Linked DNA regions of Homo sapiens: region 1 is linked to region 2. The links are contacts of gene promoters, found by promoter capture Hi-C in blood cells and fetal thymus (Javierre and others, 2016). All regions are on one chromosome and are shown on one strand. Each heading gives the region's core, a stretch centred on a gene start or on the middle of the fragment in contact. The rest is flanking DNA. Distances are from core to core; before and after follow the strand shown.

Evidence for each region. Contacts are between HindIII fragments. The CHiCAGO score rates a contact against its expected background, and 5 or more counts as called.
Region 1: a fragment that was not itself captured here is called in contact with the fragment with the promoter of SRSF12 in region 2 in 2 of 17 cell types (total B cells and naive CD8 T cells); the score reaches 5.9 in total B cells.

The regions. Positions count from the first base shown.
Region 1 is chr6:89,644,820-89,649,778 of GRCh38, reverse strand. It overlaps MDN1 (midasin AAA ATPase 1), which reads left to right. Exons shown (of 102, transcript NM_014611.3): 98 at 1,450-1,523; 99 at 1,633-1,747; 100 at 3,176-3,239; 101 at 4,622-4,764. The region is part of intron 1 of MDN1-AS1 (MDN1 antisense RNA 1); the gene reads right to left. Among named protein-coding and RNA genes, the nearest start is that of LYRM2, 8.6 kb to the right of the region's middle. The HindIII fragment of the contact is 192 bases long and covers 2,177-2,368 here.
Region 2 is chr6:89,114,139-89,119,695 of GRCh38, reverse strand. SRSF12 (serine and arginine rich splicing factor 12) reads left to right here and starts at 1,625. Exons shown (of 5, transcript NM_080743.5): 1 at 1,625-1,873. The coding sequence starts at 1,809. It also overlaps a transcript of PM20D2 not described here. RefSeq lists a silencer at 1,772-2,041. The HindIII fragment of the contact is 10,924 bases long and covers 165-5,557 here.

The DNA.
Region 1 (4,959 bases), core at 1,023-3,522, 530 kb before region 2:
GGTCTTTTACATTGTTTTGTTTCTTGACCTTGCTGTTTGTTCTTAACTGTCTAGTTGCAGAATAAGTAAATCTGATAGTGCTTGTTTTGCAGAAAATGCAACAGTGTACTCTTAAAAAAAAAATCAAAGTTTTCAGATATTACTGCATAGTCTTAGATAGTTTAGGTAGGTATCTAGGATACATTTCTTTTATATCTGAAATTATCCAGAGTTATTGTTCTATCAGTGCTAATATTAAGTTTAGGAGCCTTAATAGAATTACTTATACCACCATTACAGATGCCAAAGAGTGTTTGTTTTGGGCAGTGATGCTGTTATACAGCATGGGCTAATAAGCAACCTAAAATTTGTATGTTCTGCTGGAAAAAGTTAGTGTAGCCTCTGAACCTGGGTTCATATCCCAGCTCCATTTATTAACACATGACTTTGGGCAACTTATTTCTTAGTTATCAGTTTCACCTTCTGAAAAGTGAGGAATATATATATTTACAAGCACACATAGAATAGTAATAACCTCATACTTGCAGAATTGTTATGAAGATTAAATGAAATAATAGATGTAGAACACTCAGTTTGCTGCTGCTTTTGTCATATTGCAAATGGTAATGAAATTTTCTGATATAGTTCTACAGTCTGATCTGACTACATATATATGAATGGATTTTAAATTGGTTTTTAAAATTTTTTACCTACAAGAGGTTACTCTTCATGTAGGTCCAAAAAAGAAGAAAGAAAAATTCATGGACCATATTTCTCAAGGTCACTTTCTTTCTTTTTTTTTTTTTTTTTAAAGACAGGGTCTTGCTCTGTTGCTTAGGCTGGAGTGCAGTGGCATGATCATAGCTCACTGTGGCCTCAACCTTCTGGGCTTAAGCAGTACAGTCCTCCCACTTCAGCCTCCTGAGTAGCTGGGACCATAGGTGTGTGTCACCATGCCCGGCTAAATTGTTTTTTTTTTTTTTTTTGAAGACAGGGTTACAGGGTTTCACTCTGTTGCCCAGGTGGCTCACTGTAGCCTCAACTTTCCTGGGCTCAGGTGATCCTCCTACCTCAGCCTCCCAAGTAGCTGGGACCACAGATGTGGGGTCTTGCTGTGTTGCCTGGGCTACTCTTGAATTCCTGGACTCAAGTGATCCTCCCTCCTTGGCCTCCCAAAGTGCTGGGATTACAGGTGTGAGCTACCACGCCTGGCCCTCAAGGTCACTTTTTATTCGATGTCTACAGCAGACCATTCCTATCAGTGTAATGGATTCTAGGTTTCAACATTTGTGGTACCAGGCCACCAAAGCCTTTGGGTTTGTTGTGACTATAGTAGCCTTACTGATGTTATTCCTCTACTTGCCAAACAAAAAAATGTTTTCTTTGGGAATCTTGATGCAAAAAATAGTTGAGAGGCTCTGGTTTAGAGGATATTCTGATTCCTAAAATCATTAACTTTCTAATTCACAGCTTGCATTTGAATCTTTGGCTGTGATTGGAAATGCTCTAACCCTCCTGGAAGTGGGTCAGATTGCAGTGTGTAGGTAAGGTTGCTTTGTAATTCCTTTATGAAAACTTTTCACAACCTGTTTGGTTATTTTGATCACACAGCCAAAAAATAACTCCTGTTGTATTTGGTTTTCCTCCCCCAAGTTTTGGAGAATCTGTAAAGCTGTTACACCCATTTCATGAGCAGTTCAGTGATTACTCTGGGTCCCAGATTCTACGTCTCTGCAAATTCCAACAAAAGAAAACCAAGATTGCTCAGGTAAGAGGATGAAATAAAATGTCTTCTGCACAGTTATTTTTAAACTGGTGTAGGTTGGAGGGAGAACATTTTTATTTTTGAGACAGGACCTTGTTCTGTCACCCAGGCTAGAGTACAATGGCGCCATCATAGCTCACTATAGCTTCGAACTCCCGGGCTCAAGCAGTCCTCCTGCCTCAGCCTCCCTAGTAGCTAGGACTACAGGCGCATGCTACCATGTCTGGCTAATTTTTATTTTTTGTAGGGACAGGGTCTCACTTTGTTGCCCAGGCTGGTCTAAAATTCCTGGGTTCAAGTGATCCTCCCTTCTTGGCCTCCCGAAGTGTTGGGATTACCACCATGCTGGGCTGAGAACCACCCTCCACCGCATACAGTATTAGGACAGGGATAGTCCCAAACCTCAGCCTGTGTACCACTGGAATAGAAGCTTCCTTAGCATCCATTATAAAACAAGGTGTGACTTCTTTTTCTCAGTTCCTCAAGGATCACTTGACTTTGCATCATTGGTTTTCTAGCTCCCTACTTTTTTTTCCGAGTAGTTTGGAACATTCTGCAAAAACAAACCCATCTCCCATACCCTTATCAGCTGGGCCAAGACCTATTTTTCTCCCTCATTAAGCTTAGAGAAGAAATGATATGAAGTAAAGCCAGTGACTTACTTAAGAGAACAAAAGTTCAAAACAGCATGGGATCATATTTCTCCTGGGTCCTGCTCTGATTCAGTTTGCTTTTTCTAGGCTGCCCTGGACATTTTGTATTTTCTTGCCTTCTCTTTTGCTCAGTTGTTTTCTGTTCTTGAAAGAAGACAGCTGTTTGGTTTATTTGAGGGAGTATTGATTTCTTATGCCCCAGGGAAGCACTTCTTTTCCTTTGGGGTATCTTCCAGAACTCTAGTGGGTTATATGTTAGAGAAACGTCTCACCTGTGCTTGAGAATGCCTGTATCATCTAGGCATGGTGGCTCACACTTGTAATCCCAGCACTTTGGGAGGTTGAGGTGTGAGGACCGCTTGAGGCCAGGTGTTCAAAACCAGCCTTGTCAACATAGTGAGACCTCATTTCTACAAAAGACAAAAATAATTATCCAGGTGTGGTGGCACATACCTGTAGTGCTAGTTACTTGGCGGCAGGCTGAGGCAGAGCCCAGGAATCGAGGCTGCAGTGAGATGAGATCGTGCCACTACACTCCAGCCTGGGTGACACAGTGAGACCCTCTCTCAAAAAATAATAATTAAAAAACAGAATGTCTGTATCCAAGGATCCTCCTTTTTTAACTACATACGGCCAGAAGGGACAGTTAGTTGATGGTCTGTAAACCTGAGGTGGTTATCTGATAATCACTTCAATGTCAGAAATACTATCAGTCTCTTTGACAATGAGAAGAGCATTCACATAGTTTTCTAATTGTCTATTCCTGGTTCCGGTTTAGTTTCTAGAGTCTGTTGCCAACATGTTTGCAGCTGCTCAGCAGCTCTCGCAGAACATCAGTTCAGGTGAGCTGCATGCCTTCCTCTTCATTAACAAAATGCTTTCTTGTACTCTATATTCCCAAGCTGCTTGCTTCAGCTCAGTGTCCCCGTCACTGTGTTTTAATAGGTATGCTCCACAGGAAAAGACATAAATTGATGGAGCTGATTTTTACTTATTTATTCATTCATTCAGAAATTTTTGTTGAACCTGTACTCATGAGGCTTATAATCAATGGGGGATCTAGACACTAACTAGTATATACTTACTTGAGTTCAGATTTATAAGAGAAAGGAGCAAGGTGTGTGTGGAATTAAATATAAAGGCTACAATTAACCCTTGAATACCACAGGTTTGTCTGTACAGATCAGGTCTACTTACACATGGAGTTTTTCCAACCAAAAGTGGATTGAAAATTCAGCATTTGAGGGATGCAAAACCCGAGTATATGGAGGGCCAACTTTTCATGTATGCGGGTTCTCCAGGGCCATCTCTGGACTTGAATATGTGTGTATTCTGGTATACTGGGGGTGAGGGGGTGTGTGTCCTGAAACCAGCCCCCTGCAAGTACTGTATTCTCTAATATTTTAATAACAGAGGAAAGTAGAGAAGGACATAATATAAAAACCAGCTAATCCAACCACATTTACTTTGGGGGCTTGAAACATGCCAATTATTTAGTTCTTTTCCAAAAATCTCTCACTGTTCTCAGTGTATCATGCAGAAGCTTCAGATTTTGATGGAAGCAAGTTATTCACACCTGTCAACATTTGCTAAAACAGCCCACCCTCAACTCATGTACTATATAATCTTTAGCTGGAAACACTATGTAGCAAAAATTTTAAAACATTTTATTCAGTGTTGAGTGTTTCCTTTCTATTTGTTTTTGTTTAAACAAGTCAAATTTCAAGGGCAAAAAAATATAGAAATTAGGTACAAGGAATTAACAGAAATCTAAAGATGATTATATGTAACGACTGAAATTTGGAAGACACAGTTCCAGATTTCTGATTTGGCCACTTTCTTCTAATGCCCTTCTCAGTACTATCATTTTTAAAGTTTATAGCCATAAACTAGTGTTTTAATTCTCATGTACAGTATGTTGCTCTACAATTTGAAGTTGAGCAGAACTTAACATTTCTTGAAGCACTATTGAGAAATTCTTCTATACTGACAGAAGCTTACTTAGTATCCCTTATTATGCCTTGTCTCTGACTCAAGCATTCTAAGGGATAGATCTCATCAGAGGTCCCTTAGGTTTGTGCCCAGAATTCATCAGCTTTAGAGGTCTGTTTAGCTTTAATAGTACAGAGAAAGCCTACACTAATTTGTCCTACTTTGGGTAGTTGTGAGTTATTAAAAATGGCTGTTCATTTTATTCCCTTGCTTCGTCTTATATGGTCTACAGAAACTGCACAACTCCTCCTGGTAGTCTCTGATGGGCGAGGCCTTTTCCTTGAGGGCAAAGAAAGAGTCCTGGCAGCAGTTCAGGCTGCCCGGAATGCAAATATCTTTGTCATCTTTGTTGTATTGGACAATCCCAGTTCACGGGTGAGTGACTACTAAAAGCCACCTTTTCTGGAGGTAAAGTGGGGATTCCCTTCAACCTGTTCAATCTGAAATATGGCCTGGATCACTCAGTCATACTGAGAACTCCCAGCATTCATAGTATTCTGTCAAGTACCATTGTAGGCACTTGTAAGTATTTTCTCTATTAATCTTTGCAATAAGCCAGTGAGGTAGGGA
Region 2 (5,557 bases), core at 376-2,875:
CCTAGAGTGCCTTCAGATAGATGATGGCCCTGCGGACACCTGGATTTCAGACTTCTGGCCTCTGAACTACAAGAGAATAAATTTCTGTTGTTTCGGGCCACCAAATCTGTGGTGCTTTGTCATGGCAGCCCTAGCCAACTAACACATGGTAAGCATTCTAAGCTTTTGTATTATGAATCCAGCCTGCTCTCCAGCCTCATTTTCCAACTCTTCTCCAGCCTCATGCTCCTGTTTTGCCTCATTTACTATATTGCCTCAAAGCCTTTGCACGTGCTGTTCCACTGCACTAATTACTCTTCTCCATTCTTTACCCATCTCTTCAAGACTTGTTCAGGGAACATAAGTGACCCTCTAGCCTTGCTCACCATCCCACAATGCCTGCTCTCAGCAGCATATAGTTCTTTTCATAGCCCTGTATTATAGTTTGTATCTTTACCAGTGTGATTGTTAGATTCTGCCTCCCTACCAAATTCTAAGCTCTAGGGGAATAGGCACGGTGCCAGTCTAGCCCTGTGCCTGCAGTGCCAGAGCAATCCCTTCTGAATGAAAGAATAGCCACCGTTCCAGTACAGCTGCAGACCCAGGAACCTCCACAGCCTCTGGGAGGGCTGTGAGCTAGAAGGGTGACCACGACATGTATTCTTCAAAGCCTACCACTTCTGCGAGCGAAAAGGGGCACTCTTCACACTTAGGAGTTGCCTGGTTACACTCCCAGCCCTGAATAACAGGCTGTGCCTGCCGGCCACAGGAGCAAGGCGAAGACGAGTCTAACTAGAAGGGGATGGGCTACAACATTTTGGGGGAATAGGGAGAGGGTAATTTAAATTTTGCTTAACTGTCCCTGCATTTAAACTGTTGTCTTCTACATCATGTATTCATTTGTACATTCGTTTGTCCCCCCTCTAGAATGTAAGCTCAGAGGGCGGGGCTTGGCCTGTTTGTTCATTGCTATATCCCACGCTAAGTGCCTGGCGCATAGTAGACGCTCAATAAACATCTGAATGAATGTACTCACAGCTGAGTGTTATGCCCCAAGTGAATAAAGGATGAAGAATCATATAATACTTAAAAATCCAACAGGCCAGGCGCGGTGGCTCACACCTGTAATCCCAGCACTTTGGAAGGCCGAGGCGGGAGAGGCTTGAGCCCAGGAGTTTGAGACCACCTGGGCAACACAGCGAGACCCCGTCTCTATTAAAAAAACAAATCCGAACAAAACCGAGACCTCACAGTTGGAAAGCCGAAGGCTCAAGACCAGAGGGGCAGGAGGCCTACCAACTGCCAAGGTCCTGCGCTCAGGACGATGCGCTGAGGGCCGCGGAGGCTGAGCGGGGGCGCGGTTGAAAGCGGCTCTCACTGACCCCACCTCCGCCCAGCCGCAGCCCCGCCACCACCTCTGGGTCCTCTAACCCCCGGCGTCCCCGCCGCGGCCTCAAGCCCCCTCTTGGCCTCCGCCCTCCTGACATACACTGGCCCTCGCCGCCCCCTCCCCAAATCCCGTCGCACTCCAGGACCCCCCATACCCGGATCCCATAGGGCCTGGGAACGGCCGCGCTCCTGTCTTCGGAATTCCCGCGGCCCCTGGGCCGCGCCGGCGCCGCCCCCGCCCCCGGCCCGTGCGTCCAGGCTGGCGCCGCGCTGCGCCCCCTCTGCGCCGGCCTCTGCGGCTGCGCGCTGGCGGGGCTGAGGCCGAGGGGTGGGGGTCGCGCCGGGGGCCGGCGGAGCTCCTGTGGTGGTAGCAGCGGTAGCGGGAGACGGAGCGAGTCCAGCGGCCGCGGGCAGACCCGGAGGGAACGGAGGAAGCGGTCATGTCTCGCTACACGAGGCCCCCCAACACCTCCCTGTTCATCAGGAACGTCGCGGACGCCACCAGGTGAACGGCCGCGGCTGCAGGTTGGGGGCGCGGAGGAGGGGCGGGGTAACAGCCGCGCCGCGGAGCACGGCCGAGGCCCGGCGGAGGCTCGGGGGAGCTGCGCGGAGCCTCCCCGCGGGCCCAGGCTGCGCCACTTGGGGAGGTGTGAGCCCTCGGACTACTCCGCGGCCCAGGGCGGAACTCGCGCCTCCGCCCTCCCGGCCAGCTTTCAGCCCCGGCGCCGCGCACATCGTGTCCCGGGCCCGCGTCGCTTTCCGCGGTTCAGCACCGCAGCCGGCGGGCCGTGGGACACGGGGCGCCCCTCTCCCGAGCTCAGGTCGCTCCCCGCCGGGAGTCGGGAGGGTTTGCGCTCCAGCGAGTGCCCGCGTTTCAGCTCCTTTGTCGCCGTGCCCCGATAAAATCGCGCGCATCCAACCCTCCTAGATGGAGAGGAATTGGGGCTGGTGAGAACGTTTTGTACCATAATGCGTACTCGGGCCTTACAGTTTCTTTCCCCCAGTTCTGGTCTACTTACAGACGGTGCTGCTTGCATTTTATTCACACAATTTTATTCTGCATACAAAAAATAACTTCAATGAATGAGATCAGTGCGTTTTTCTTTAAAGTTCTGAGTCCAGTATTAACACCCTTTTTAAGGGCGTGAGTATAGGCTCACCTGGTTGATTCTGATGCCCCACCCCTCCGTTGAGAATTTTGTCTACAGAGTGTCTGAACACAGATACTAAGGAATGACTTTTTCATATAGCACTTCCTTCCTTAATGGAGCTGAAGAAATTGGGGGCGGGGGGAGAGGGAACGGTGTTAATAGACATTCTCATTTCACTGGGCTTCATTTACTTCCCCCCAGCCTTTCTACCTATGCAGTACTGTTTTATTGTACATAAGGGAGAGCGGAAACTAAGAGTTTTAATGATTTACCTGGGGCCAGAGAGGTATAGATACATGGAGCTCTTGACTCCATAGTCATCTGAGATGAGTATTATAATTTACCTTTGAGGAGTAAATAAACGTTAAGTATTTTTTATTTTTTAGTTTTTTTTTTTTTTTTAGACAAAGTCTCGCTCTTGTCCCCCAGGCTGGAGTACAATGGCCCGATCTTGGTTGGCTGCAACCTCTGCCTCCCGGGTTCAAGCGATTCTCCTGCCTCAGCATCCAAAGTAGATGGGATTACAGGCGTGTGCCACCACACCCGGCTAATTTTTATATTTTTAGTAGAGATGAGGTTTCATTATGTTGGCCAGGCTGATCTCCAACTCCTGACCTCAAGTGATCCGCCCAGCTCGGCCTCCCAAAGCGCTGAGATTACAGGCATGAGCCACCGTGCCCGGCCAAGTATTTTTTATTTGATCACCGCAAGTACATGTATCACAACTATATGTTGTGGTTAATATATCTTAGTTAACATCTAAAAGGTGCCTTGTTTACATTTCTTCTGTCAGCCTTTTTATCAATATATTACATAGAAAACACGAACATAATTTATGATTTGGGCAGAATTAAAAAACCTTGCAGTTGAACAGACAACTTGAAAATGGAATAAGCATCAAGCCTCTTCAGGGTGTCTGTAGAAAAATCAGAGGTTTCCAATTCTAATGGTTCACAGGGGCCAGCCGGGGTAATATAAACGAGTGAAGCTGCCAGCCTATAAGGCACAGTAGGATGGTGTGGACTATCAAATAGAAATAGAATAGCAAATAGAAAAGGAAATATGCCATCTAAAAGGTGCAGCATCTGCCTCTAGGCTCCAGCTGACAGCTGCCATGTAGACATCTGGACTTATTGTTGATATATCTTACTAGTTGTAAAGAGAAATCAGAAATCTGGATTTTGTATGTGTAATCTTAGTCTTTAGATGCATTAAGTTGAATCATATGAAAATCCCATTCGTGGCCGGGTGCGGTGGCTCATGCCTGTAATCACAGCACTTTGGGAGGCTGAGGCAGGCGGATCACGAGGTCAGGAGATGGAAACCATCCTGGCTAGCACGATGAAACCCCGTCTCTACTAAAAATAAAAAAATTAGACGGGCGTGGTGGCGGGTGCCTGTAGTCCCAGCTGCTCAGGAGGCTGAGGCAGGATAATGGTGTGAACCCGGGAGGCGGAGCTTGCAGTGAGCCAACATCGCGCCACTGCACTCCAGCCTGGGAGACAGAGCGAGGACTCCGTCTCAAAAAAAAAAAAAAAAAAAAAAGAAAGAAAAAAGAAAACCCCATTTGTAGATTTGAAAGCTGTAAAATATAAGGCTGGGCGCGGTGGCTCACGCCTGTAATCCCAGCACTTTAGGAGACCGAGTTCGGCGGATCACTTGAGGTGAGGGGTTCGAGACCAACCTGGCCTACCTGGTGAAACCCCGTCTGTACTAAAACACAAAAATTAGCCAGGTGTGGTGGCTGGCGCCTGTAATCCCAGCTACTCAGGAGACTGAGGCACGAGAATCGCTTGAACCCCAGAGGTGGAGGTTGGCAGTGAGCCGAGATCAGGCCACTGCACTCCAGCCTGGGCGACAGAGTGAGACTCTGTCTCAAAAAATAAATAAATAAAAGAAAGCTATAAAATGTAGCCTGGTGTATGACACCTGTAGTCCCAATTACTGGGAAAGCTGAGGTGGGAGCCCGGGAGGTCACTTGAGCCCGGGAGGTCAAGGTTACAGTGAACGATGATCACATCACTGTACTCCAGCCTGGGTGACAGAGAGACCTTTAGAGAGTCTAAAAAAATAAAAGCTGTGGCCGGGCGTGGTGGCTCACGCCTATAATCCCAGCACTTTGGGAGGCCGAGGTGGGCAGATCACGAAATTAGGAGTTTGAGACCAGCCTGGCCAACATGGTAAAACACCGTCTCTACTAAAGATACAAAAAATTCACCAGGCATGGTGGTGCGTGCCTGTGATCCCAGCTACTCGGGAGGCGGAGACAGGAGAATCGCTTGAACCCGGGAGGTGGAGGTTGCAGTGAGCCGAGATAGTACCATTGCACTCCAGCCTGGGCGACAGGGCGAGACTCTGTCTCAAAAACTAAAAAAATAAAAGCAGTAAAATATTGGCAATTTCATATTTATACGCATTTTAAAAATGTTTAAACGTCATGCAGGCCAAATAAAACACATCTGCAGGTGACACCTGATCTCTGATCTATGTACTTCATTCACCAGTGAGTGATTGAGACTGATAGTTGAGATTGACTGATTTCCTTTTCCATTTTTTCACTTTTTTTTTTTTTTAGCTTTGCCACTGGCAGACAATCAAAATCTACAAGATTATATTACATGAATGAAATCTCTAACATTTGTTGAATACTCACTGTGTACTAGGTGCCATACTAAAAACATTACATATATTAAATTTTCGCAGTAACCCTATAATGTATGGTGGTTTTTTTGTTTGTTTGTTTTATTTTGAGACAGAGTCTTGCTGTGTCAGCCAGGCTGGAGTGCAGTGGCACGATCTCGGCTCACTGCAACCTCCGCCTCCTGGGCTCAAGCAGTTCTCCTGCCTCAGCCTCCCGAGTAGCTGGGATTACAGATGTGTGCCACCATGCCTGGCTAATTTTTGTATTTTTAGTAGAGACGGGGTTTCATCATGTTGGCCAGGCTGGTCTCGAACTCTTGATGTCAGGTAATCCGCCCACCTTGGCCTCCCAAAGCACTGGGATTACAGGCATGAGCCACTGCGCCTGGCCGTATGTT